7 separate regions of the Homo sapiens genome follow, and all the other regions are linked to region 5. The links are contacts of gene promoters, found by promoter capture Hi-C in blood cells and fetal thymus (Javierre and others, 2016). All regions are on one chromosome and are shown on one strand. Each heading gives the region's core, a stretch centred on a gene start or on the middle of the fragment in contact. The rest is flanking DNA. Distances are from core to core; before and after follow the strand shown.

The links. Contacts are between HindIII fragments. The CHiCAGO score rates a contact against its expected background, and 5 or more counts as called.
Region 1: a contact is called between a fragment that was not itself captured here and the fragment with the promoter of TIMP3 in region 5, in 1 of 17 cell types (erythroblasts). The highest score is 6.1, in erythroblasts.
Region 2: a contact is called between a fragment that was not itself captured here and the fragment with the promoter of TIMP3 in region 5, in 3 of 17 cell types (erythroblasts, megakaryocytes and fetal thymus). The highest score is 8.8, in erythroblasts.
Region 3: a fragment that was not itself captured here is called in contact with the fragment with the promoter of TIMP3 in region 5 in 1 of 17 cell types (fetal thymus); the score reaches 5.6 in fetal thymus.
Region 4: a fragment that was not itself captured here is called in contact with the fragment with the promoter of TIMP3 in region 5 in 10 of 17 cell types (erythroblasts, megakaryocytes, M1 macrophages and 7 more); the score reaches 10.3 in erythroblasts.
Region 6: a fragment that was not itself captured here is called in contact with the fragment with the promoter of TIMP3 in region 5 in 7 of 17 cell types (megakaryocytes, M1 macrophages, M0 macrophages and 4 more); the score reaches 10.7 in megakaryocytes.
Region 7: a contact is called between a fragment that was not itself captured here and the fragment with the promoter of TIMP3 in region 5, in 11 of 17 cell types (megakaryocytes, monocytes, M2 macrophages and 8 more). The highest score is 16.4, in megakaryocytes.

Annotation. Positions count from the first base shown.
Region 1 is chr22:32,934,340-32,937,908 of GRCh38, forward strand. All of the region lies in intron 3 of SYN3 (synapsin III), which reads right to left. Among named protein-coding and RNA genes, the nearest start is that of SYN3, 120 kb to the right of the region's middle. The HindIII fragment of the contact is 890 bases long and covers 1,706-2,595 here.
Region 2 is chr22:32,966,018-32,969,915 of GRCh38, forward strand. The region is part of intron 3 of SYN3 (synapsin III); the gene reads right to left. Among named protein-coding and RNA genes, the nearest start is that of SYN3, 90 kb to the right of the region's middle. The HindIII fragment of the contact is 4,613 bases long and covers 1-3,898 here.
Region 3 is chr22:32,599,531-32,603,230 of GRCh38, forward strand. All of the region lies in intron 6 of SYN3 (synapsin III), which reads right to left. Among named protein-coding and RNA genes, the nearest start is that of SYN3-AS1, 26 kb to the left of the region's middle. The HindIII fragment of the contact is 8,146 bases long and covers 1-3,700 here.
Region 4 is chr22:32,548,613-32,552,384 of GRCh38, forward strand. All of the region lies in intron 7 of SYN3 (synapsin III), which reads right to left. It overlaps LOC124905103 (a long non-coding RNA gene), which reads left to right. Exons shown (of 3, transcript XR_007068067.1): 3 at 1-2,462. Among named protein-coding and RNA genes, the nearest start is that of SYN3-AS1, 24 kb to the right of the region's middle. The HindIII fragment of the contact is 2,479 bases long and covers 642-3,120 here.
Region 5 is chr22:32,800,055-32,803,643 of GRCh38, forward strand. It overlaps TIMP3 (TIMP metallopeptidase inhibitor 3), which reads left to right and starts at 1,651. Exons shown (of 5, transcript NM_000362.5): 1 at 1,651-2,068. The coding sequence starts at 1,948. The region is part of intron 6 of SYN3 (synapsin III); the gene reads right to left. The HindIII fragment of the contact is 16,798 bases long and covers 1-3,589 here.
Region 6 is chr22:32,565,475-32,569,519 of GRCh38, forward strand. The region is part of intron 7 of SYN3 (synapsin III); the gene reads right to left. Among named protein-coding and RNA genes, the nearest start is that of SYN3-AS1, 7.4 kb to the right of the region's middle. The HindIII fragment of the contact is 839 bases long and covers 1,656-2,494 here.
Region 7 is chr22:32,647,756-32,651,440 of GRCh38, forward strand. The region is part of intron 6 of SYN3 (synapsin III); the gene reads right to left. All of the region lies in intron 1 of LOC105373002 (a long non-coding RNA gene), which reads left to right. Among named protein-coding and RNA genes, the nearest start is that of SYN3-AS1, 75 kb to the left of the region's middle. The HindIII fragment of the contact is 8,009 bases long and covers 1-3,685 here.

The DNA.
Region 1 (3,569 bases), core at 901-3,400, 130 kb after region 5:
ACCTGGAGAGAAGTCACACTCAGGCTTGGATGTACAAGTTAGAGGTTCATCTTGTTCAGATGTGGGTGTCTAGAGTTATTTCTCAGTTGTGGTTTATGAATAATTACAGGAGATAACTGCCTGGGTTGCAAGGTAGCCAGCTTCCGTGGGATCAAGCAGAAAGGTGGCCTAGCAAAGTAAAAGGGCATTCTTCTGTTATTTAACTGTCTAAAACCTTCAGCACCATGGAAATGAACACAGAGGTGTCCAAACCACCTTCCCTTCAAGATAGCTTGATAGCCTTTCTGGTAGAATATGAAAGAGCAGCCATTTGGAAGACTCTCATGAAAATTGTAGTGAATTGAATTGTATTCCTCAAAAAGCTATGTCCAAGTCCTAACCTCTGATACCTGTGAATGTGACCTCTTTGGGAACTAGGGTCTTTTCAGATGTAATCCAGTTAAGGATATCAGATGAAATCATCTTAGACTGGTGGGAGTTGCGGGGGAGGCACACTAAATCCACTAACAAGTCCTTAGAAGAGAAGAGACGAGGAAAAGACAGAAAGACACAGGAAAGAAGATCATGGGAAGATGGCAGCAGAGATGGAGTGATGCTGCCACAAGCCAAGAAATGCTGAGAGTCACTAGAAGCTGGAGGAGCCAAGGAAGGTCTCCCCTGGAGCCTTCAGAGGGTGTGCAGCTCTGCTGAAACCTTGATTTGGGAATTTTGGCCTCCAGAACTGGAAGAAAATAAATTTCTGTTGTTTTAAGCCACTAAGTGTATGGTAATTGTGGAACCTAGCAAATTAAAATAATAACTTTGGGAATTGAATGCAATTTCAGTATCATATTCAAAGTCACCAGGGCTCGAAGAAGGTCAATGTGGCCAGGTAAAGCTCCTTTATTCACTTCACCAAAAACATGCGCATAGAAATCTGCACCTAGACTCATTCTCTCTCTCTCTTTCTCTCTCTCTCTCTCTCTCTCTCACACACACACACACAAAATAACAAATTAGTTATTCACCTATATCGCAAAAAACGCTACTATCAGAATTACTTAAATATTCTGCATGAGCTAACCTTTTCACCACAAATTATTTTGACCTCTAAGGCTTTTGGTATGGTATTTTTTTTTTTTTTTTTTTGAGATGGAGTTTCACTCTTGTTGCGCAGGCTGGAGTGCAACGGCGTGATCTCAGCTCACTGCCACCTCCACCTCCCAGGTTCAAGCAATTCTCCTGCCTCAGCCTCCTAAGCAGCTGAGATCACAGGCACCCGCCACCGCGCCCGGCTAATTTTTGTATTTTTAGTAGAGACAGGGTTTCACCATGTTGGCCAGGCTGGTCTCAAACTCCTGACCTCAGGGCGATCCACCCGCCTCAGCTTCCCAAAGTGCTGGGATTACAGGCGTGAGCCACTGTGCCCAGCTGGTGGGATAACATTTTAATACTACACATTAGGCACTGTGGTATGGACAAATGAGTACTCAGAGAGACTACATTCACATGTAAGCTGTTCAATATACTAGCTGATGAGTTTAGTGAAGTTACTGATTTGAATATCAATTTTGATATCTTTAAAACAGAGGTAATGATATCAATAATATCTATCTTTAAATGTTTTTGTGATGATTCAAGACAATGTATATGAAACATCCAGCACAGGGCTGAGACTCAGTAAATAGTTGCCATTATTATTTTCAAATATTCCATTGTCTTAGTAAGCTTAAACTGAAAGCATCCAAACTGGTGTACCCTGAAAAAGAACAACTCCTTCAAGTATTTATAACATATACATTTAAAAAATATATGGAGGTGTGAAATGTAAAGACTTCTGCATATGGCAACAATGAAGTACCAGAGATTACATATACACTCCCATCTTAAACAACAATAAAGCCAGACAAACTGCATTACATATCAGTTTTCAGGAACTAGACAACAGGCATTTCAGGACTATGATTCCTGTAAGAGGGAACAAAATTATCCCTATGTTTATCCTAGCTTACTGCCTAGAGGCAGTTTCCAGGCAGCAGAACAGCATGGGAGAAGGCAGAGTTCATCAGTTTCACTGAGTTAAGGATACAAAGATTGAAGTTCAGGGTAGCCATGGCAGCTAAAATTTGCAGGACAGAGTATAGGAAAAGATGAATCTGCAGAGAAAAAATAAAACAAACAAACAAACAAACAAACAAAAAACCTCACAAACTCCAGGGAGATCTATGTCTTTCGCTGAGTAACTAATTTGAGCATACATGAAAGGAAAGTAATCAAGGCCAGGAAAAAGCCATTAGGAAACAATCTCCAGAATCCACAGAGCTGGGAAGAACCCATGTGCTCACCAGCTAGAGGGTAAAGACCTTGTCAAATGGGTAGGTTACTCAAAATTTCATAGTGGGACTGAATTATCCCTGGCCAACAGCATGCTCTGGATCTAGGACGACCAGTTTGTCCCGGTTTGCCTTGGGCTTTCTCAGCTTTAAAACTAAAAGTCCCATTTCTCAGAAACTCTTCAATCCCAGTTTTACAGTGAAAGTCCCATGTCTTGGAAAACTCCTTAATCCCAGGCAAACTAGAATAATCAATCACTCCATGTAGATCTGTCCCAAGAAAAGCTTAAAACCAAGTCTTGAATGGATCAAGTTTATTACAAGTAACTTAACTGCATCTCAGAAAAAACTAAACCACTGTTTAAAGGAATCTAACAAAACCCAGCACCCAACACATCACATTCACAATGTAAAAGTAGTGACATTCAATCACAAATTACGAGGAATGCAAAGAAGCAGAAGAATATGACCCACAACAAGGAGAAATCAACGAATAGAAACAGACGTGGAAATGGAGAGATGATGGGAAGAGCAGAAATGGAAGTTAAAACAACTGTTATAAAGAGGTTCTCAAGAATGTAGATGGAAACAATACAATGGGAGAGAAAGAAACATATTTTAAAAATTAAAAATGAAACTTGTAGAGATAAAAATTATAATATCTGAAATAGAAAATGCACCGCTAGGCTTAACAACAGATTAGACACTTGTATCAGTCTGTTCTACACTGCTATCAACTACCTGAGCCTAGGTAGTCTATAAAGAAAAGAGATTTAATCAGCTCACAGTTGTGTGGGCTGAACAGACTTCTGCTTCTGGGGAGGTGTCAAGAAACTTACAATCATGGTGGAAGGCCAAGGGGGAAGCAAGCACTATCCTCATATGGCAGAGAAGCAGGAGAGAGAGAGAGCAAAGGGGGAAGTGCTACACACTTTTAATCAACCAGATTTTGTGAGAACTCTATAATGAGGACAGCAAGGCGGATGGTGCTAAATCATTAGAAACCACCCCCATGATCCAGGCACCTTTTGCCAGGCCCCACCTCCAACAGCGGGGATTACAATTCAACATGAGATTTAGGTGGGGCACAGAGCCAAACCATATCATGCTGCTGAAAAAAATGCTAGTGAACTTGAAGAGAAAACAATAAAAACAACCCAAAATGAAGCACAGAGACAAAAATACACACAAAAAAAAGCAAAGAAAGAAAAAGAGAGCAGAACCTCAGTGAGTTATGGGATAATATTAAATAGTCTA
Region 2 (3,898 bases), core at 380-2,879, 170 kb after region 5:
ATTGTAACCTGAGCACGCAGCACATAGGCAGTCAATGAATATTTGTGGAATGAATAAAGATACTGTCCCTGTTCCCAATGAGCCCAGAGTCTACAGGGAGCGAGGGGCAGGTGAATTAGTAATCTCAAAGTCATCTGGGAAGTGTGATGTAGACACAGGTATGAGGTGCTAGGGGAGTACAGGGAAGAGGCACCTCACCCTGCCTGGATGGAGGGGGAGGGCAGAGGAAGCAGCACAGACATCATGTTGGAGCTAATGTTGAAGAATCTATGGCAAAATCTAAGAAAGGATGTCCCAGGAGGAGAGACGTGCATAAGCAAAGGCATGGAGATGTGACTCCAAGATGGTATTACCATGGGTGGGCACTGGGGAACCACAGCAGTTTGGTGAGACCGAAGTCTAAGGTAGAGCACGGGAGGAGATGAGCAAGGAAAGGCAGGCAGGGGCAAGCTCATGGAGGGCCTTGTGTGCAGAGCTTGAGACCCCCAAAACAAGTCTAATGCACAGGTCAGCCCTTTATGCATGAGAGGAAAGTGACCAAGCCTTCCCTGGATTTTACTGCTTCAGGATACACCTTCCCAGATGAGCCAGCATAAAGATTAAGAACCATAAACAGGCAGGGCATGGTGGCTCACACCTGTAATGTCAGCACTTTGGGAGGCCAAGCTGTGGGGACCACTTGAGCACAGGAGTTTGAGACCAGTCTGGGCAATACAGTGAGACCCTGTCTCTACAAAATATTTTAAAAATTAGCCAGGTGTTGTGGTGCGCACCTGTCATCGCGGCTACCCAGGAGGCTGAGGTGAGAGGATGGCTTGAGCCCAGGAGGTTGAGGCTGCAGTGAGCCATGACTACACCACTGCACTCCAGCCTGTGTGACAGAGTGAAACCTGTCTCAAAAAATAATAAAATAAAATAAAAAGAACCATAAACACAGATTCTTCAGTTAAACTGACTCTGAATTCCAGTTCTGCCACTTGTATGCTGTGTGGCCTTGGGTAAGCCTCAGGTTCCTCATCTGGAGAATGGGGGAACTCATAGTACCTGTTCATCAGAGTCATGATGAGGATGAAACACGCTAATCCATATGAAATGCTTAGCGTGTGCCTGACACTTAGTAAGCATGTGATTAGATACTGCCTATGATCATTAATTCCTTCAGAGCCCAGGCTGTACAGCTGCCATCTGCCTCAGGCACCGCCAGTGGAAACTCTCTCAGGTCACCCTCTAAAACTCCCTGAGATGAGGGGGCCAAGACTGGACCAAAACGGGTCCAGTTTAGGTTGAATTCTATTGTAAAGTAAATAGTGCCTTAGAACTACTAAAATCCTATGTGATACTAAAGATAGACATTGTAGGGCACATAAACTCGTTCTCTGCTATCAGCCTCCCAGCTCCTTCCTGAGGGACTAGAAAATGCGCCCAGACTGTGTATGATCCAAAGGAAGTCATTTCAATGCCTAAGTCCTGTTGATATGTCAGCTCACTCCCCTCCTCAGGAGACTCTGCTTAGAGTGGGCTGGGAGATTCCTTAGACAATCTAATAGATTAGTTTCCAGTTTAGCATAACAGCCAGACAGATTTTTGCAGTGAAGTCATCCAAGTCAATTAAAAGGCATTTTTCCCTGCTGTGAGTTCAGAAGTCCCTTTGGTTCATTCCAGTTTTCTGGGATGTTTCATAATAGGTTCCACCCTAGGTTAATTAATAACCCTTGATTCCCACTGAAATGCAAAGGCTCAAATCCACTGTGTAAGCACATCCGGGCAGAGGCTGCTGGCAGGGCTGGGGTGAGCCCAGTGGGGGCTCCTCTCATCAGGGAGTGGGCCAGACCCCAAATGGTACAGACAACAGCAGAGCTGGCAGAAAATGTAGAGTAGCCACACAAAAGCTGAAGGCCACGCTGGAGAAGTGGTGTAACCAGGGGCAGTAGCGCATGGGGAGGGAGATCATCAACAGATGAAGGAATCACAAGGCTGGGGATTAGGCAGATTGGGAGCAAGTTGACATGTGCAGTGTGAAACGGCTTAGTCCAAGTGGCTGGACTAAGGTGGTGAACAAGAGGAGGTTGGCAATGGCTCGCTTTCAAGAAATGCCAGCTGAAACACATCATGTGGGTCTGACTCCATCCTCTCAGTCTTAAGAAAAATAGGTCATCTCTTCTCCTCCAGTTTCAAATACGAATTACAGGTATGAGAATGGCTCAAGTGGTTAAGGAACACAGTGGCGAGGATGTACATGCATTCACTTAACACTTATGAAGTCCCTTCCATGTGCCTCCTACCCAAGCATCATATTCAAGGATGAGATGACTTTTGCACCAAATCCAGAGCTGAGCTTTTCTGCCTCCAGTCTCAAGCCACCATTCCTATCCAGCGAATCTTCTAAGACCACTGTCAGCCTGTGCATTCTAAAATGAAATCACGGTCACAGCACTCCATGGCTTAAAAAGTTCAATACATACATCCTGCCTCTAGGACACAATTCTTAGTTGCATGCCTTGCACTAATAGCCCACCCTGAATAGACTGCCCTCCACCTTCTTTGTCAGCTTCGTCTCCCACCAACCCTTCTCATGCATGGCATACCCTGGTCATTTGCCCTGTACGTGACAAGCTGAGACTTGAATCATGCTCTTTAGCTAGAAGGCCCAATGTGCACATCTGCCCACTCACCCTCACCTAATTCTTGTCCCCAAACCCAGCTGCACATCAGGTTCTCTGTGAGGTCTTTCCTGAGAACATCCCAAGGTTAGACAAATCTCTACGATAGAGAGATCCTCGTCGCAACACATTTTGGCCACTGCCTTCAATGTCTATCTTCCCACCAGATAAAGAACCCTTTGAGTGTGGAGGGCTCTGTCATTAGGACAAAGTACAGAGCAGGTGCTCGGTGAGTGCTTCTTGAATGAAGGAACAGGTTCAGATAAGACAAGCTCTGTTTGTTTTGTTACACATCCTTCAAGAAGTGAAAGGGCTTACTAAGTTCTCCTTCAGAATGTCCACTTAATTTCCACTGGAGTCTCATTTATCAATGGTACTAACAGGGGGCCGTGCTGATGCTGATGAAGTGGTGTGGCAGTAAGGAAAGGTGAATTTCCAAACACAGCAGCTAAAGGCCAAGGAACTGAGCTGGGTTTCCCAGTGCAAGAGGATGGACTCCCTTTGACTCCCATGCCTCCTTCCTTCTCATCTCCAGTGCAGGTGCTGAATGGTGCCACCAAACCAGGATGCTGTACTCTCCTCCAGCAGAAAAGAAGAGGAGAGTCTAAAGGGTCATGCAACGGGCAACACAGTCCATGTTGTGTTCAGAATCAGCGGGGCTCATTCAACCTTGGTTTCAGCATTCCCCAGCCCTCGCTGCTTGGAGCTCTCCTTTGGCTATCAGCTATGGTTCAGCACTCTATCCTAGGCTCCTCCCAAGAAGAAGGCTTCTCACAGGTAAACGTGAAAAACATAAACTTCATTTGTTTTTGCTATTTTTTTGCTTGCTATTAAAACCATCAGAAGGGACTAATGGCTTCTTAAAAGGGAAAAACAAAAGATGGCATGGGCAGGGGGAGAAATGCAGTGTGAAAAGCAGGGACCCAGGAGATGAAAGCTAGTGCTCTCCACACTTTGGACTCCAACAATAATTTCACGTGTGTGCTAAGTCACTTCCCCTCTCTGAACCTTTCAGCTGTTAAACAAGGGAGCAGGATTAGATAATCTCCTAGGACACTCCCTGGCTCTATCCTTCCATGACTATGTCACACCTTCAACTCACTCACGCATTCACTCAACAAACATTCATTGCATTTTTTCTTCAGGTCCAGAGTCTGTGCTATCTACTATCAAAGAGACGTTAGAAATGGATGACAGGTGCCAACTGAATGTTGTATATCAATGGGAACTATGATTGA
Region 3 (3,700 bases), core at 456-2,955, 200 kb before region 5:
CAGGATGGTCTCGATCTCCTGACCTCGTGATCCGCCCGCCTCAGCCTCCCAAAGTGCTGGGATTACAGGTGTGAGCCACTGCGCCGGAAGTCAAGTTTATGTGTCTTGACTCTCCATCAAGCACTCTCTCCATCAAGGCACACTTTTCTGGGAATCATATGCATATCTGGGGTGTAATAAATGCTCCCCACCCCCCATGATAGTGATCAATAAAATAATATCAAATCAATTGCGTGGGCACGACTGAATGAGAACTATGTGGCTAGTTATGTGTCTTGTGCTGGTTGGGGCACACCAAAGGTTGAGACAAGATTTCTGCCCTCAGAGGATTTATTATCTGCTTGGACCCATGGGCTGTACAATGAAAGAGCAGAGTGAGGCAGCATGGCAGGAAGCTGTGGGGTACGTCGCGGTCATGTGCAAGTCTCCAGAGCAGAGCCCAACATTTTTGGCACCAGGGACCAGTTTTGTGGAAGAGAATTTTTACACGAACTAGAGGGGGATGAGGGGATGGTTTTAGGATGATTCCAGAGCATTGCATTTATTGTGCATTTTATTTCTATTATTATTACCTTGTAATACATGATGAAATAATTACACAACTCACCATAATGTAGGATTAGTGGGAGCCCTGAGCTTGTTTTCTTGCAACTAGACAGTCCCATCTGGGGGTGATGGGAGACAGTGACAGATCATCAGGCATTAGATTTACATAACGAGAGGGCAACCTACATTCCTCGAATGCGCAATTCACGACAGGGTTAGTACTCCTATGAGAATCTAATGCTGCCTCTGATCTGACAGGAGATGGGGCTCAGGCGGTCGTGCGAGTGATGCAGAGTGGCTGTAAATACAGATGAAGCCTCACTCACTTACCCACGGCTCACCTTCTGCTGTGCAGCTCTGTTTCTAACAGGCCATGGACCTGTACTGGTCTGTGGCCCAGAGGTGGGGGACCCCTGCTCCAGAGGAAATGAGGCTCTGACCAGGGTTCTGAAGGATGAGTAGGTTGTGGGTGGATGGATAGAAGGCACAGAGTTCCCCCAAGGGTGAATGGTGCAGACCACCACGGTCTTCCCGTGGGGCATGTTTAGATTCTTCATGAGCTCTAATAAACAAAGACCCATAGGAAGGAAGGATTTATTTTATGCAACTTAATATGATTTTTTTTTTTTGAGACAGAGTCTTGCTCTGTCTGCCAGGCTGGAGTGCAGTGGCACAATCTCGGCTCACTGCAACCTCTGTCTCCTGGGCTCAAGCAATTCTCCTGCCTCAGACTTCCGAGTAGCTGGTATTACAGGCTGTGCCACCATGCCTGGCTAATTTTTGTATTTTCAGTAGAGACCGGGTTTCACTATGTTGGCCAGGCTGGTCCCGAACTCCTGACCTCAGGTAATCCACCCACCTCGGCCTGCCAAAGTTCTGGGATAACAGGCGTGAGCCACCCCTCCCGGCCACTTAATATGATTTGATCTGCAATAAATCTATTTTGCAGGTGATTGCTGAACAGAATTGTATATTTGAACGGCATGTCCTTCTCCAGGGTTCTTAAATGAAATTGGAGGAATGTGTTCATTGCTAGAAATTGTGGAGTAGGTGCTGTATCTGTATTTAGAGAACACAGAAAGTCAATCTAGCAAAATCTGAGAATGTTTAAGTAAGATATTTCACAGAAAACATTTCAGAATTCATCCAAAGCAATGGATTTTCCTGATACTAGGGGAAATTTTCCTTTGCCTTTTTTTTTCTTTCTTTTTTTTTTTCTGAGATGGAGTCTTGCTCTGTCGCCCAGGCTGGAGTGCAGTGGTGCGATCTCAGCTCACTGCAAGCTCTGCCTCCTGGGTTCACGCCATTCTCCTGCCTCAGCCTCCGGAGTAGCTGGGACTACAGGCGCCCGCCACCACGCCCGGCTAATATTTTGTATTTTTAGTAGAGACGGGGTTTCACCGTGTTAGCCAGAATGGTCTGGATCTCCTGACCTCGTGATCCACCCGCCTTGGCCTCCCAAAGTGCTGGGATTACAGGCGTGAGCCACTGCGCCCAGCCTCCTTTGCCATTTTTTACTTTGACTTGTGGGAAACAGCAATCTTTTTAGAACCACGTATGGGCTGGCAAGACTCCGGGCTAGTGCTGGGGACACAGAAGAGGTAATTTGGGGCCAGATTATTGGGGGCCTTTGAAACCAAAGAGGGGAGTTCAGGTTGCTTGGATGGACAGTGGGGAAGCAGGATAGTTCTGGAACCGGGGAGCGACCTGCCAGCTGTGGGCAGGATGGATTTGTGCTAGTGGTGACTGAAGGGCCAGGGGCCAGTTTGGAATTCATTCTAAAGACAGTAAATGCCACTGGTTGGGCCTGGACTGGGAAGAAATGGTAGAGGGAGTGGGAGCACTCCCAGAGCTTTTCTTTTCTTTTCTTTTTTTTTTTTTGTGACACTTCTTTATTGAAATAATAGTATTAAAATGACCAGAGAAATTCAAGACAAAAATTGTCTACAATCTCATTGTCTAACCAAATCAGTGTTTGCATTGGTCCACATTACCTTATAATTTTTATATGTCCAATAAAACCCCCAGGATACTTTACAACAATATTAGAGGTAGAATTTTGCATCTATCTTCTCACTTAATATTATACCATAAGTGTTTTCTTATTTTTGCTACAGATGTTTTTATTTTCTTCTATCTTTCCCCACTCCCCTTCTCCAGACCAGGTAACTAATCTCACCTCCCCAGTGTGTCTGGGGTGTATTCCTGCCCATCCCTCACCACGTGCAATCTTTGCAAACACGTATGCACGGATATGGCTGAGGCTGATGTTTGTATTTTTGAAAATAGCTCTTATCTCTTAACGTCACACTGTATACACCCCTCCTCCCATGTCAATAAAGATAGTTCTATCCCGATAGTTTTTTGTTTTGTTTTGTTTTGTTTGTTTGTTTGTTTGTTTTTGGAGACAGAGTCTTGCTCTGTTGCCAGGCTGGAGTGTAGTGACACGATCTCAGCTCACTGCAACCTCCAACTCCCTGGTTCAAGCGATTCTCCTGCCTCAGCCTCCTGAGTAGCTGGGATTACAGGCACGAGCCACCATGCCCAGCTAATTTTTGTATTTTTAGTAGAGACGGGGTTTCACCATGTTGGCCAGGATGGTCTTCATCTCCTGACCTTGTGATCCGCTTGCCTCGGCCTCCCAAAGTGCTGAGATTACAGGCGTCAGCTACCGCGCCCAGCCAATCCTGATAGTTTTAATAATAGCTGCACCGTCTACACATGTACACGTGCACTGGTTTCCTATTAATAGACATTTGTGTTATTCATTCTCTCTCTGCTACTATAAACGAGACTTCATTAAACATCTTTGTACACATGTCCTTATGAGCTAGTGTTTTAATTCCTCCAGGCCAGTCCAGGAGATTTTCAAAGGGAGAACCAGCAGAATTTGGAGACATTCTTTTTTTTTTTTTTGAGATGGAGTCTCGCTCTGTCGCCCAGGCTTCTATTTCTAAAGTCAGTTGTTAGAGCTCAAGAAATGAAACCGGATGCCATGGCATTGCATACGGGGTGAATCAGCCACCATATTACCTCCAGGCTAAAAGTGACTGTATTTATTGTCATGTAAGAAGGGCCAGGAACGGGACCAGGCACTTTATGGATGGTAGCATCCTTTCCCTCCCCCATGTTATAGATAACAAAACACAGCGCT
Region 4 (3,772 bases), core at 631-3,130, 250 kb before region 5:
CCGCCCGCCTCGGCCTCCCAAAGTGCTGGGATTACAGGCGTGAGCCACCGTGCCTGGCCTAAAATATTTATATTTTTATGCCACCTGTTCTAGAAAGAATTTATGGCAAATTTCAAAGATATATAACATACAACATGAGACGTAATTAAAAGCCGGATGATAGTAATTCCACTATTAAACATCCATCCTAAAGATATAATGGAAGACACATGAAATGGTATGCACGCAAGGCTGTTTATTGCAGCACTACGTGTAAAAGAAAGTTTTCTGTCAACAATTGGGCCATGTTCTATGATCTCAGAGGTTTATAGCTCCACCTTAAGCCTTGAGGACAGGATGAAGTTAGATGAGACCCTGAAGACAGGGGTGGGCGGCCTAGAGCTGTGGATGGAGCTGGAGGGATGTTGGGATGGTCCTCTGGCCAGAGGAGGCATTTGGGATAAGAAGGTATGTAGGGCGGACTGCCACCGGGATGGTGCATTGACTGCTGACCCACATGCTCCTCAGCAGGGGACAGCTGCATCCATGGTGCTCCATGCACACAATCGAATGCTTTGCAGTCAAGAGAAGGCAATGAGGAGGATCTACATACTGCTATGGCGTGAAAAAAATAGGGTGCAGAATAATGAGGATAACATGCAAGCTTTTTTTTTTTGTTTGAGACAGAGTCTCCCTCTGTCACCCAGGCTGGAATGCAGTGGCATGATCATGGCTTACTGTAGCTTCAACCTCCTGGGCTCAAGCAATCCTCCTGCCGCAGCCTCCCCAGTAGCTGAGACTACAGGCATGTGCCACCACATCTGGCTAATTTTTTATTTTTTATAGTGACAGGATCTCACCATGTTGCCCAGGCTGGTCTTAAACTGCTGGGCTCAAGCAATTCTCCGGCCTTGGCTTCCCAAAGTGCTGGGATTACAGACATTAGTCACCATGACCAGCCAACATGCAAACTTTTATCAAGAATTTTTTTGTGGACAATGCACATATTTGATTAAAAAAATACAGGCTGGGTGCGCAGGCTCACGCCTGTAATCCCAGCATTTTGAGAGGCCAAAGTGGGTGGATCACTTGAGGGCAGGAGTTTGAGACCAGCCTGGCCAGCATAGTGAAACTCAGTCTCTAGTAAAAATACAAAAATTAGCCAGGCATGGTTGTGTGCACCTGTACTTGGAAGGCTGAGGGAAGAGAATTGCTTGAACCCAGGAGGTGGAGGTTGCAGTGAGCTGAGATTGCACCGTTGTACTCCAGCCTGGGCAGCACAGCGAGACTCTGTCTCAAAAAAAAAAAATGCAATGAAGGAATGAACCAAAACCAAATGAGAATGTTACCTATAGAGGGAAGGGAAGCGGGAGGTGACGGGGATGGAGGCTAGTCCTCACTGTATATATCTTGTTTTTATAATTTTGGCTTTGGAATCAAGCAAAAATGGTTATTAATTATAAAACAAAATAAATCAACTGGAGAAAGAATTTCCTGAAAACAGAAAACAAAATAAAGTTAGTCTAACAATATATTAAGCTAGTGGCTTAAACTTACAGAGAAGAATTATTTCAAGTGACTTTGTAACAGAAGGCTGAGCACGTGGATCTCTGTGATATTCCATTTCTTAGATGAATAAATTCTTACTATTACTTATAACCCACAGTATTATAATATACTTATTTGACTGTCCTTCACACTAGAATTTATTTCTTAACAGCCTGATCAGTAATTGGCACATGGTAGATGTTCTATAATTTGTTTAACCACATTAAAAAAAAAAAAAAAGCTCAACACAACAGTAACTATATATCCCTAGCAGAAAATATCCAAAAGATTTTTTAAAACTGCTAAGAAATATAAAATTTTATTCAACTTGTTAGTAATAATAATGGTATTGCTATTTTAAACCATGATAATAGTAATAATGCTATTAGGACCCAAGATTTTTAAATATAAGAGAAAAGAGATACAATTTTAAAATAAAATAAATAAGTGTTGTAATCTAAGATTTGAATTCAAAATATCAGGATGAATTTATGATGTATTTTTCTCTTAAAAACATATATGCATTTTTCCCTGTGTCTGCCAAAAAGGCCTAGAAATGGCAAAAAAAAAAATAAGAATAAACATATTTAGCACCCAGATTGTGGTCTCTAAAACCCATTATGTTATTGAAAGGCTTCCATGGCTCCTTGGGGAAATGACTGATTCCAGGTTTGGGCAGAAAATGTACAAGATGAGTTCAAAACATCTTATCATGCTAGTAAAAGGAAAGCTACCATGTCAAGAAGACACATAAATCAACTCAAAAGGGCTCCCATTAGCCAAAGATGGGATAACTTGAGTATCAGAAAGAATAGTGACTTCAATAGATTGAAATACATCAAATTGTTAATAACCAATGACAAAAAGATCATTGGTCATGTTTGGAGGGTGCTAAGACACTATCTCACTATTCCAAAATAAATGGGTAAATAACAGTGATGAAGAAATATTCTCTTTGATGTTTTCTAGCTACTAAATGCAAAAGAAATAGAATTAGGACATCATCCTTCTGCAGCCCCTAATGCAATAACAGATTGAGGCAATGCTGATCAATGCCAAGGCCACTGGGGAAAGGCTGATGGGAAACTTGATAATGTGTGGATCAGGCAGACGATACCTGAGCTCAAGGACCACTCTTGACATCTCAACAGAGAGACTTGCCAGTCAGATGTGATGCAAGATAATGGCCCCTACCCCCACCCTGCACCAGGGAAGTATTCTTGCCAGAATCCAGAACCTGATTCAGATAAAAATCTCTGCATTTAACTACTAGTTTACAGGAAATGCAGGTGATAGAGGAACAACATGGAGCTGCCATTGGCCAAATTAGCATGTAGGAAATTCTACAGGAAAAATGGCCTCCCCCCACCAACAAATAAATGACAAGGAAAAAAAAAAAACAGAGGAGACTGAACTGTTATAGATCATAAGAGGCTTATGTCATACTAACCATGTGAATATGAAGGACTTGTCTGCATACAATGGAACACATCAATTAACAGGAGGCTATTGAACACTGATGATATACTAGATGATATTAAAGAATTATTATTATGTTTTTAGGTCTTTGGCTACATTAGAGACAAAAAAAGAAGCTTTTGTGTGTTAGAAATATTCACTGAAATATTTATGGGTGAAATGACTTGATATCTGAGATTTGCTTTAAAATATTCCAGTGATCTACAGAGACAGGAAGCAGAGGAGCAATTGCCAAGGACTTGGGGGAGAGGAATGGGTAGTCACTGCTAATTGATGTGGGATAATGAAAATGTGCTACAATTATACAGCGGTGATGCTTCCACCTTGTAGATATTCTAAAAAACACTGAAGGCCAGGTGCGGTGGCTCACGTCTGTAATCCCAGCACTTTGGGAGGCCGAGGTGGGTGGATCACGAGGTTAAGAGTTGAGACCAGCCTGGCCAACAGGGTGAAACCCTGCCTCTACTAAAGACAAAAATTAGCTGAGAGTGGTGGCGGGCGCCTGTAATCCCAGCTACTTGGGAGGTTGAGGCGGAAGAATCGCTTGAACCCGGGAGGCGGAGGTTGCAGTGGAGCAAGATCGCGCCACTGCACTCCAGCCCGGGTGACAGAGTGAGACTCCATCTCAAAAACAAAAAACAAAAAACAAAAAACTGAAAACACTTTAGAAGGGTGAATTTTATAGCATGAGAATTAGATCTGAAAAAAGTATCCAGAGGTGTTTGAGAGGAAGATTGGAGATGTACATAAAATATAATTGAGCATC
Region 5 (3,589 bases), core at 401-2,900:
GGCTAAAGTGCTCAAAGGGGAAAAAGGAGTTTCAAAAATGTTCTTGGAAATACCATCTCTCACGAATTCTTCGGCCTCTGCTGTCCCAATGTCACTTGTCTGAGATGTAAACAGAGGAGTTCTGAGAAAGAAGCTGAACTTGCATTTCTCCCTGTTTCTATTTGTTCCAAACTTGTGGCATTTCTAACAGGATGAAGCGGAAGAGAAAGGGAAAGAGACAAAAGTGTAGAAAGATGGAAGATCCCAGCTGCAAATGGCCATTTGCAGTTAGATGGAACAGCTGCTGACGTTCAGGGAAATGCATGTCTCTCTTCAGATGGGAAGGAGCAGTGGAAAGGGGTGACGAGTTCCTGGCTGGCCACCAATCATCCCATCTTTCTGTGCCGGTTCCTCATCTGGAAAGTGGGAGTGATACTTGTGCTTGCTTTTCCTACCCACAAAGATTATTGTGAGAGCTATAATACGGTGAGATACAGAATCCTGCTTTTAAAAATACAAAGCAGAATCAAGATGTCAATAATAAGGATAGTAATTGTGTTAGTTATCTGCAATCATCTATTATAGCTAGTCGTCTAGGATCCTGGATCGTTCTCCTGGTTTTACTACAGTTTTGGATCAGCTCACCCCCAAATCCCTTGCTGAAGGGTGGAGCTCTGTCAGCCATGGGCAGGGAACCACTTCCTCTTGCCTTTCTACTTTCTGTCTTTCAAACATGCCCAGGGTCTTTGCACTTGCTGTTCCCCCTGCCTGGTACCTCTCTCCTGTGGCTTGCCCCAGAGCTGATCCTTGTCTTTGTCCACTTCTCAGCGAGGATGGCACTTCAGGGAGCCCTTCCCTTACTATCGCAGAGAGAGCAGGCCCTCCCCAGTCATGTCCAACCCAGAACTCTGTTTTGTTTTCTTCATAGCCCTAGCATCACAGAAAATCACCCTGTGCATTCATGGATGTCCACGGGGGCAAGGGCTTTGTGTTGCTTAACCCAGCATCCTGAACCGTGTTTGTTGAATGAATACAGAACCCCGTTTGCTCTGGGAGAGCACAGAAAACAGTCTTCTATCATATATCATAGCCAGCTGCAAACAGCAGATGGCTTCCCATATCCCAGAGAGTAAGAACCAGAGAGAGAGAGAAAGAGAGAGAGTTTGGGTCTTTCTCCTCTGTGCCTGCTCTCTCCAGAGAAACTGGAGGGGTAGCAGTTAGCATTCCCCCGCTGGTTCCACCAAGCACAGTCAAGGTCTCTAGGACATGGCCACCCCTCACCTGTGGAAGCGGTCCTGCTGGGGTGGGTGGGTGTTAGTTGGTTCTGGTTTGGGTCAGAGACACCCAGTGGCCCAGGTGGGCGTGGGGCCAGGGCGCAGACGAGAAGGGGCACGAGGGCTCCGCTCCGAGGACCCAGCGGCAAGCACCGGTCCCGGGCGCGCCCCAGCCCACCCACTCGCGTGCCCACGGCGGCATTATTCCCTATAAGGATCTGAACGATCCGGGGGCGGCCCCGCCCCGTTACCCCTTGCCCCCGGCCCCGCCCCCTTTTTGGAGGGCCGATGAGGTAATGCGGCTCTGCCATTGGTCTGAGGGGGCGGGCCCCAACAGCCCGAGGCGGGGTCCCCGGGGGCCCAGCGCTATATCACTCGGCCGCCCAGGCAGCGGCGCAGAGCGGGCAGCAGGCAGGCGGCGGGCGCTCAGACGGCTTCTCCTCCTCCTCTTGCTCCTCCAGCTCCTGCTCCTTCGCCGGGAGGCCGCCCGCCGAGTCCTGCGCCAGCGCCGAGGCAGCCTCGCTGCGCCCCATCCCGTCCCGCCGGGCACTCGGAGGGCAGCGCGCCGGAGGCCAAGGTTGCCCCGCACGGCCCGGCGGGCGAGCGAGCTCGGGCTGCAGCAGCCCCGCCGGCGGCGCGCACGGCAACTTTGGAGAGGCGAGCAGCAGCCCCGGCAGCGGCGGCAGCAGCGGCAATGACCCCTTGGCTCGGGCTCATCGTGCTCCTGGGCAGCTGGAGCCTGGGGGACTGGGGCGCCGAGGCGTGCACATGCTCGCCCAGCCACCCCCAGGACGCCTTCTGCAACTCCGACATCGGTAAGCGCTCCTGGTGCCCCGCCCGAGCCCCACGCTGCAGCCAGGACTGCAGCGCTGCTTAGGGAGGCAGGGCGAGCCCCACTCCTTTCCTCTGCCCCAGGAGAGGGGCAGACGGGGTTGGGGCGGAGTGGAGAAACTCGATGTCCTTGGGCGGGGGCGCTGGCATAGCTGAGAGGGGAAGATGCCCTGCAGAGGAAACTCACAGTGGCTGAGGGAGCCCCTGGCCGCCTTTGCTTTCCTAACTTAGGTCGTGAGGTTCCTACCGGTCCTTTTGACATCTGGAAAATGTCCCCATTCACTACTAACGGAGGAAGGGCTAGAAGAGAAGGGTGGGGAAAGGGTTCCCAAAACTTGGAATGCTAACTAAAGTGCTGGGAAATTGAATAGTTAAAAAAAAAAAAAAAAGTTGCCCGCCATGTGCACGGAAAGTTGCAGGAGAAACTTGGAGTACTCCGAGTCTGCATCATCTCCTGCGCCTATGAAATTCATTCTTTTCACTGAGACCCAACCCAGCTGCAGGCTTCCCAGGCAAGCGCTAACCGAGCTTCTGGGACTGCCAAGTTTGGGTGGATTTAAGGGGGAAAATGAGGAGAAAGCTGTGGCATTGACCCACGCCCTGGAGGCACTGTGTTTGAGAGTGTTGATAGCCAGCAGAAGGTGCGAGGGGTCACTCACCACATAGCTGTGAAAATTCACAGGAAGGCTATTTTTTTCCCCCTTGAATGTGTGTGGGGAGGGGGAGAATGGGTAGTGGAAAACAGATTTGTCACCAAAAGAACAAACCTGCCAAGGGTCACATCACGGTGACAGTTCCAGACTGGACTTAGTGTCTTGAGTAGAGAGACCCTGTAAAGAGACCTCCTACTCCTTAGTGTGTATGGAGGGCCCCGAGAGCATCCTGGGAGGCTTGTCTGGGAGTGTTTGGGACACTTGTGTTTGGATGGCTAAAGGTGGAGTGGCATCTGGGAAACATCTCTCTCCTCCTTTCCAGCCCATAAAGCGTGCAAGTCCAGTGGCTCTGCTGGGAGAGTGTGTGTGTGTGCACTGGGCTGGGCTGGGCGGTGGGGTGGGACAGCCTTGCCGCCCTCTGCCTGTGTCGATTCAGAGGTGAAGAATGGAGCGTGTGTGTTTTAAGTACAGTCATAAAGGAGAAGGAAATTTTCCACTGAGTCTTGGGTGAGGGACTCTACCAGCGTGTTGTGGTGAGGAGGGGGAGGAGGTAGGAGCTTGGCAGGGGAGGCAGTGAGGGCCGGGAGGGGCACTGCTGGTGGGCTGGGCTGAGCCTAGAGGTCAGAGTGGGGGTGTGGTGACCAGAATGTCAGTGCAGTTGGCAGCTGAGGGTGTTTGTGTGACCTGAGGTCACCCTTGTAAGAGGCTCCCTGGGGCCTGCATGGTACATCCTCCCCTCTCCTGGGGGAACCCAGCTGGCCCAGGATTTGTGGATTGCTTAGAAAGATCCTTTTGGGCAGCCTGAAGACTGGGGAGGGTTTTCCTCCCTCCTCCACCTCCACCCACATTCCA
Region 6 (4,045 bases), core at 825-3,324, 230 kb before region 5:
ACATATATAAAAAATATAAATTCATACATAAAAATATATATAAATATATAAGTATATATAGGAGACCGAATCATGCCCTGTGCCCAGGCTGGAATTCAGTGGTGCGATCCTAGCTCACTGCAGCCTGGAACTCCTGGGCTCAAGCAATCCTCCTGCTACAGCCTCCCGAGTAGCTAGGACTACAGGCATGCACCACCGTGCCTGGCTAATTTTTAATTTAATTTAATTTTATTATATATTTATTTATTTATTTAATTTTTTTTTACTCGCTCTGTCCCCCAGGCTGGAGTGCAGTGGCACGATCTCGGCTCACTGCAAGCTCCGCCTCCCAGGTTCACACCATTCTCTTGCCTCAGCCCCCCCGAGTAGCTGCGACTACAGGCACCCACCACCACGCCCAGCTAATTTTTTGTATTTCTAGTGGAGATAGCGTTTCATCATGTTAACCAGGATGGTCTCGAACTCCTGACCTGGTGATCTGCCCGCCTCGGCCTCCCAAAGTGCTAGGATTACAGGCATAAGCCACCGCGCCCAGCCTATTTTATTTTTTTAGAGATGGGGTCTTGCTATGTTGCTGAGGCTGGTCTCAATCTCCTGACCTAAAGTGATCCTCCTGCTTGGGTCTCCTAAAGCACTGGGATTACAGGTGTGAGCCACTGCACCTGGCCAGGGTATTTTGTTTAACCCGATATAAAAAAAGTTCTCATTTCAATGTGTAATCTATATAAAAATTATGATTGAGATATTTTATGTTCTCTTTTTTGTAACTCTAGTCTTGGAATTGGGTGTGTATTTTATACTCAGCCTATCTCAATAGAGGCATGTGTCAAGCACTCAGTAGGTGCACGTGGCTGATGGCTACCAAACTGGACAGTGCAAGATGGAGGGATCTGTGGACAGTGAGAAAGAGAGAGGGGGCAAGGTCAGAACCGTAGGGCACATGGATGCTCAAGGGAAGGGTGGAAGAGGAGCTTGCAAAGGAGCCTGGGAAAGCCTGGCTGGAGACAAAGGAGGAAAGGCAGCCAGCATGGTGTCCCTGAAAGTGACGTAAAGTTTGTGTGTTAAGAGATGGGTACAACAGTGACACAACCCGGAGGAGAGCAAGCAAAACAAGGGGCTGAAGACTTTATCAGGATTTTCTATTTGGAGGTCATGAATTATCTTTGCCAGACCAAACTTTGTGGAGTGGTGGGAGCTGATTCAGGGAGCTGGAGAGAATGGAGACAACTACAGGCTCCTTTTTAAGAAACTTGGCTGAGAAGGTAGGTAAAGGGGTACAAGGGCTCAGCAAAGACTTATTTATTCTTTTCAAATCTAAATGAGACTTGAACATTCTTTAGTGTTGAAAGATGCCCTTCAGAAAGCAACATTGAGCGCCAGGAGTGAGAAGAAACGGACAGGTAGCCAAGTCCTAGAGGCTATGATGGAAATGAGAGCCAGAACTCAGAGGTAAAATGAAATCTACAAAGGAGAAAAGACTCCACTGAGATGGGAAAGAAGGTGTGGGGGCAGGCAGAGGTGCAGGAAGATGAACTTTGATACAGGGGAATGGATTCTCTTCTTTGATGGGAAGGACGTGGGGCTTGAAGAGAGCAGCAAAGTTCTGGAAATGCCACAGTGAGACTGGGAAAGGTAACTGACTAGGGAGATGTAAAAGCTTCACCAGGACCCACTAGGGCCCTGCTGGGGTTGGAGATGAGGCATTTGTAGTAGGAGCATGAGATCAGTGATGAGGTTTTCTCCAACTGTGCTCAGCAGTGTCAGTTTAGGAAAGGAGAAGGCCCATCGGTGGATTGATTCAAGGTTGAGTGTTCTAGGGCAGGTGCAATAGAACGATGACGGAGATCCTCCCTCCCTCCCTCCCTCCCTCCCTCCCTCCCTTCTTTCCTTCCTTCCTTCCTTCCTTCACCAAAAATGTATTAAGGGACTGCTGTATGCCAGGTACTCTGCTAGGTGGTGGAAATAGAACACAGAGCCAAAAGAGATTAAGATTCCCGCCTCCATGGAGCTTATGGCAATGGTTTTCTGCAAATTCTCAATTGGTCCTTAATATGGAAGGGGAAGAAAAGGGTTATGTATTGGGCCTCAGAACATTAGCTAAAAAATTGGGATGGACTGATACATTTCACATGTGGAGCTGGCATGGTCTACTGTGTGGTCGGGGAGAGGGTGGCTACTTTGGACAGTGGATACCAATCTTGAAGTCATGGAAGTAGGGATTATCATCCACATATCCCCAGATGGGGTTGACGAGCCTCAGAGGCAGCACGTGACCAGCCCGAGGTCACACAGCCAGGAAGTGGGAAGATTGTCTGGGCCCAGAGTCTGCTGTTTTTACTTTCCTATACTCCCAAGCTGATGAAACCCCAGGAAGAGGAGGTTTATTGAACTCCTTGCGGGTATAGGTTCCCTGCCTCCCTCCTCCTTCTCTTGCCAACCCTGATTTGGGCCAGAGCCATGGCCATTTTATGCATCAGTGTTGTTTGGAGGGGGAAGCTTGCTAATGAGGATGATCCCCAGTTTCAGAAGGGACCGGACGGTCACAGCTGCATAAAGTCCTCTGGATGATTAAAGCTCCTCACGGGACAGGCAAGGCTGTTAGAATCTTCCTGGAGTTGACAGGCAAAAGCACAGCCAGACCTTTGCTCCTAGCTGCTGTGGAGAGCTGTGCCTCTGGGAGGTCCTGAATGACACCAGCCTGGGCTCCCTGTACCTTTGCTCTTGTTTCCTTCCTGGAATGCTCTCCTTGCTCCTCTACCTAATTCCTACTCATTCCTCAAAACCCTAAAACTCAGTTCCTCCTCCAGCTCCTAGGAATTTCTCTTTCCTCCTCTGGACTTCCACAGGGCTTTGTATTTAGTCTACAAATATTTATTGAGGGTACTGTGCTAGGCATTGGGAATACAGTCATAAATAAGACAGGTATATTCTAGTCAGGGAAATGGAAAACAAATAAGCAGATAGTGTCTTGGGTCCATTGGGGTTGCTCTAACAAAATACCATAAACTGGGTGGCTTATAAAGGACAGAAACGTATTTCTTACTGTTCTGGAGGCTGGGAAGTCCAAGGTCAAGGTGGATTCAGTGTCTGGTGAGGCCCTGATTTATTCCTGTAACCTCACAGGATGGAAGGGACAAACAAGCTCCCAGGGCCTATTTTAGAAAGACACTAATCCCATTCCTCAGGGATCTGCCCTCATGACCTCCCGAAGGCTCCACCTCCTAATTCCATCACCTTGGGGGGTAGGACTTTAGCATATAACATATTTTAACATATCTGTAGCAGACAGATAGGTGGATACCTAGCTAGCTAGGTTGGTAACAAATTGGTAGAAAATAGCTAGTTTGCAAAGACTTTGAAAGACACAACCGGAGAGTGTCCTAGGGGATGTATTACTTTGTATTGCCTGAATACTGAGGGGCCTCCTGAAGCTAATCAATCAGGCTGGGTTTGTAGAATTCCATTTGATGGGTGTTTAGGCTGCACTATGACACACATTCTTCCCATGCAAGTCACAAAGTTGTTAGAGGAATCAGAAGAAATTTTGCAGGCAGCACAATGCAAGTATATAGATGACGGGGTCAGGATGGTCTAGATTCACATCCTAGCTTAGGGACTTACAAATGCCATGATTTGGAATGAGTTCTTAAGTCTTTCTGGGGTTCAATTTCCTCATGTGTAAAATGGAGATGATAATATTTATACTCACCCTCAGAGAGTTGGGAGGATTAGAAATTCTATCTACCTAATTCTTTCTTTCTATCTATCTCTATGCATCCAAAATCTATCTATCTATCTATCTATCTATCTATCTATCTATCTATCTACACCTATCTATATAAAATCTATCTATCTATCTCTATCCATCCAAAATATATCTATCTATCCATCTATACCTATCTAAAATCTATCTATCTCCATCCAAAATCTATCTATCTATCTATCTATCTATCTATCTATCTATCTATCTATCTTCTCTATCTATCTAAAATCTATCAATTGATCTAAAATCTATCTGTATCTAAAATGTATCATCTATCTATAT
Region 7 (3,685 bases), core at 566-3,065, 150 kb before region 5:
GCGCCACCATATCTGGCTAATTTTTGTATTCTTAGTAGAGACAGGGTTCCATCATATTGGCCAGGCTGGTCTCGAACTCCTGACCTTGCAATCCGCCCACCTCGGCCTCCCAAAGTGCTGGGATTACATATTTTTAATATTTTTTTACATTTTTTTTGTTTTTGGTAGAGATGGAGTCTCACTATCTTGTCCAGGCTTATCTTGAACTCCTAGGCACAAGTGATCCTCTCACTTCAGTCTCCCAAGTAGCTGAGACTACAGACACACTTTTAGAAAAGTTTTTGTAGGGATTGGGGGGGTGTCTCACCACATTGCCTAGACTGGTCTCAAACTCCTGGCCTCAAGCAGTCCTGCACACTTCAGCTTCCCAAATTGCTGGGATTACAGGAGCCGCTACACCTGGCTTAGCTTTTGAGACTCTATTAAGGAGAGTCTTAGTTTGGTTCCTGTGCTCTTTCAACACCTCCCCAATATTAGCAAACCTCCCACTTTCCTGGAGAGCTTGGAGCCCATAGCAAGCAAGAGTATCCAGCATGAATTCAATAATATTGCTTTGTTCTTGTGTTTTTTATGGTTATTTTCTTTTGTCAGGAGATACTGGTTTTCCATTTATGGTAGTCATCAGTTTCTTTGAAAATAGGTTTATTGAAGATAAAACTTAAAAATATCAATAATTATATGAATTACAGTATACACAGTACATAAATATGGTAAAAATTGTAAAGGTTGTGACCAACGATTGAAGTTTGGGAAACCCGGACTTAAAGTTTTGGCCCCAGTGAAAATCCTGCCCTTAGTAGTTTAATGGAAAGAGCACAGCATTGGTTAGAAATATCTGCATTTGAGACTTGGCATTGTAAAGCCCTGTTTGGCACATATTAGCTACATGACCATGGGCAGGTTGATTAACCTCTCAAAGCCTCAGTTTCATTAGCTGTAAAATGGGAACGTACTACCTCTTGAGGTTGCTGAAAGATTAAATGACATCACACACACAGAGTATACGCTGAGCTCAGAGCCTGGCTCACAGCAAACAACTAAGATGGACAATTATGATTTTTGTTGTTGTCCAAGAAGCACCTCTTTTACTCTGAGGTGCCACACAACAGTCATTGGCCACTCATACCAATGAATGTGCATTTTACATTTTCTCCCTGCAGGGAGTTTGGATGGGCACAAAGTAAAACAAAGAGGCCCCTGGATGTGAAGGAGTGTATGAAATTAGGAAACAAGTATCTCCTGACCACCTATTACAGTTGATTGTATCATCGTTCCTAATTCTTCACCCCTCTCTGTATCAATACCTGTTGTCAGGTGACTTGATAGTTTCTTCCACTAGAGGCGGAGTATACTTCCCCTATCCCTAATTCTGGGCTTGGTCATGTCGCTTATTTTGGCCAATGGGCTGGTAGCAAACGTGACACAAACAGTGGCTTAAAATGTGCTTGTGAATTTGGGTATGACCCTCTTGTACTGCTGCAGTTAGCCATGTCCTGGCTAGCTTGCTGGTCCACTCAGCGCCAGGCCTAGAGCAGCCAATTCCCATCTGACCTGTGAGAGCAAGAATAATTATTTTTTAAGCCGCCGAGCTTTGGGATGGTTTATTATGTTTCAAAATTGTGACAATAGATGTTAATGACCCCTAGTATGTACCGAGTACAGGCATTTTCGTATAGTCTATTTAATTTCATCTTCAAACATCCCCATTTACTAATGAGGAAATTGAGACTTTGAGAAAGCCCTCCTGGTCCAAGATCACACAGAAAGGAAACAGCTGAGCTTGGAGGCAACCCTGTTCCAACTCCCAGAACATGCTCTTCTTACTACACCACGGAAGAATGGGGTGGTGGGAGGCGGAACACAACAAAACTAGCTTCGCGGCTGGGCCCAAGGCTGGTCCCATCTAGAGTCATCTTTGAGACCACAAGAGCCAACATCATAAATCTAGAATTGTGACAACACAGGATGACTCAGGCAGGGGGTGGCCGGACAGGGAAGCCCTGGTGAGGGGCTGGTTGGTTATAAAACCTCAGTCTAAATAGGGACAGGGCGGTAACATTAGTAGACAGGGCTGGGCCACAGAATCGGGTGGTTTAGGACAAATAATGACTTGAAATTTATTTTGGAAAATATTTTCCCAAGTGTCTCACTGGGCCTTGTGGGAATGAGAAAATCAGTGGGGAAAAAGCCAGGAGAAAAAGCTGATGAGGCTGAGAAGGGGCTCATGACTAGTAGGCTTTGATTTCATAAAATTCAGAGCATTAGATGTTCCTGGAGGTGAACTCTTACTCATGCTATAGAACTCTTCCCCCAATTCCCCCGCTCTGTGAGTTATCCCATCATAAGACAGACGCAATCTCAAATTTCTCTATTCATTCTCCAACAGTTATGACAACGGCCAGCATTCATTGAGCATGTACTAATTGCCAGACACTATTCTAAGCTCTTTACACTTTTCTTTCTCTCTCTCTCTCTCTCCCTCCCTCCCTCCCTCCCTCCCTCCCTCTCTCTCTCTCTCTCTTTCTTTTTGAGACAGAGTCTCACTCTATCACCCAGGCTGGAGTGCAGTGGAGCGATCACAGTTCACTGCAACCTCTGCCTCCCAGACTCAAGCAATCCTTCCACCTCAGCCTCCCGAGTAGCTGGTACCACAGGTGTGTACCTCCATGCCTGGCTAATTTTTGCATTTTTGTGGAGACGGAGTTTCACCATGTTGCCCCGGCTGGTCTCAAACTCCTGGGCTCAAGCGATCCCCTCATTTCAGCCTCCCAAAGTGCTGGGATGGCAGGCCACTCTACCTGGCTGCACTTTACACTTTTATTGGTCCTTTCAATCTTCACAATAATGCTAAGCAGAATATGCTCCTACTCTTTCCCATTACACAAATGAAGGAGAAAAACAGAGGCCCAGAGATATGAACTACAAAGCCCAGGCTCACACAGCTGGTCAGAGGCAGGGTTGGAACTCTAATTTGAGAGAGTATGCTCTGACTCACTATGCCGCGTGTTTACTGTACAGCGCTGTGACAATCTGAGTCTCTTATTAAATGAGATAATGCATGCCAAGCACTTAGCTTCTTGCCCAGCATTAGAGACGGCCAAAAATATTACAATACCAAGTATTCTTATGCTGATATGAATTTTATTTTATTACCTTATAACAGCTGCTTCCCCAGTCCTCCTTAGAGAGGAAAGTCTTTGTGGGGAACATACTTAGCGACTGGAATAGAAGGTCAGTCACTTGAGGGTCTGGGGTCAGCTGCAGCCAAGTCCTCATGGGTGGGAGGGACTGGGGAGAAGAAATTGGAGATCTTGGCCAACTGTGAGGGGTCTGAGGAGTAGAGATGGAAGAGCACAGAAGGCCAAGAAGACAGACAAGGGCTCTGTATTGTGAGATAAGACTCCCTTCTTGGGACCTCACTAAGGAGGTCAGTGAGTCTACTAAACACACTGCTCTTGGTAGGAGACATTTTCGCTTGTGGCGGGAGAAAGAGAAGCCACTGAACTTGATGCCAGCATTGATGTGTGTGGGGTGATGGCCATGGGGGAGTCAGTGCCCCAGAGGAAGTTCAGAAGAAGATGAGCCCACCAGTGATTAGCAAGAATCTGAGAAAGGCCAGGGAATTTTCCTTGAGTTAGGAGGTCTCCAGCTGGCCTCTGGGTAGGGTTGTTATTTTCGATGGTGT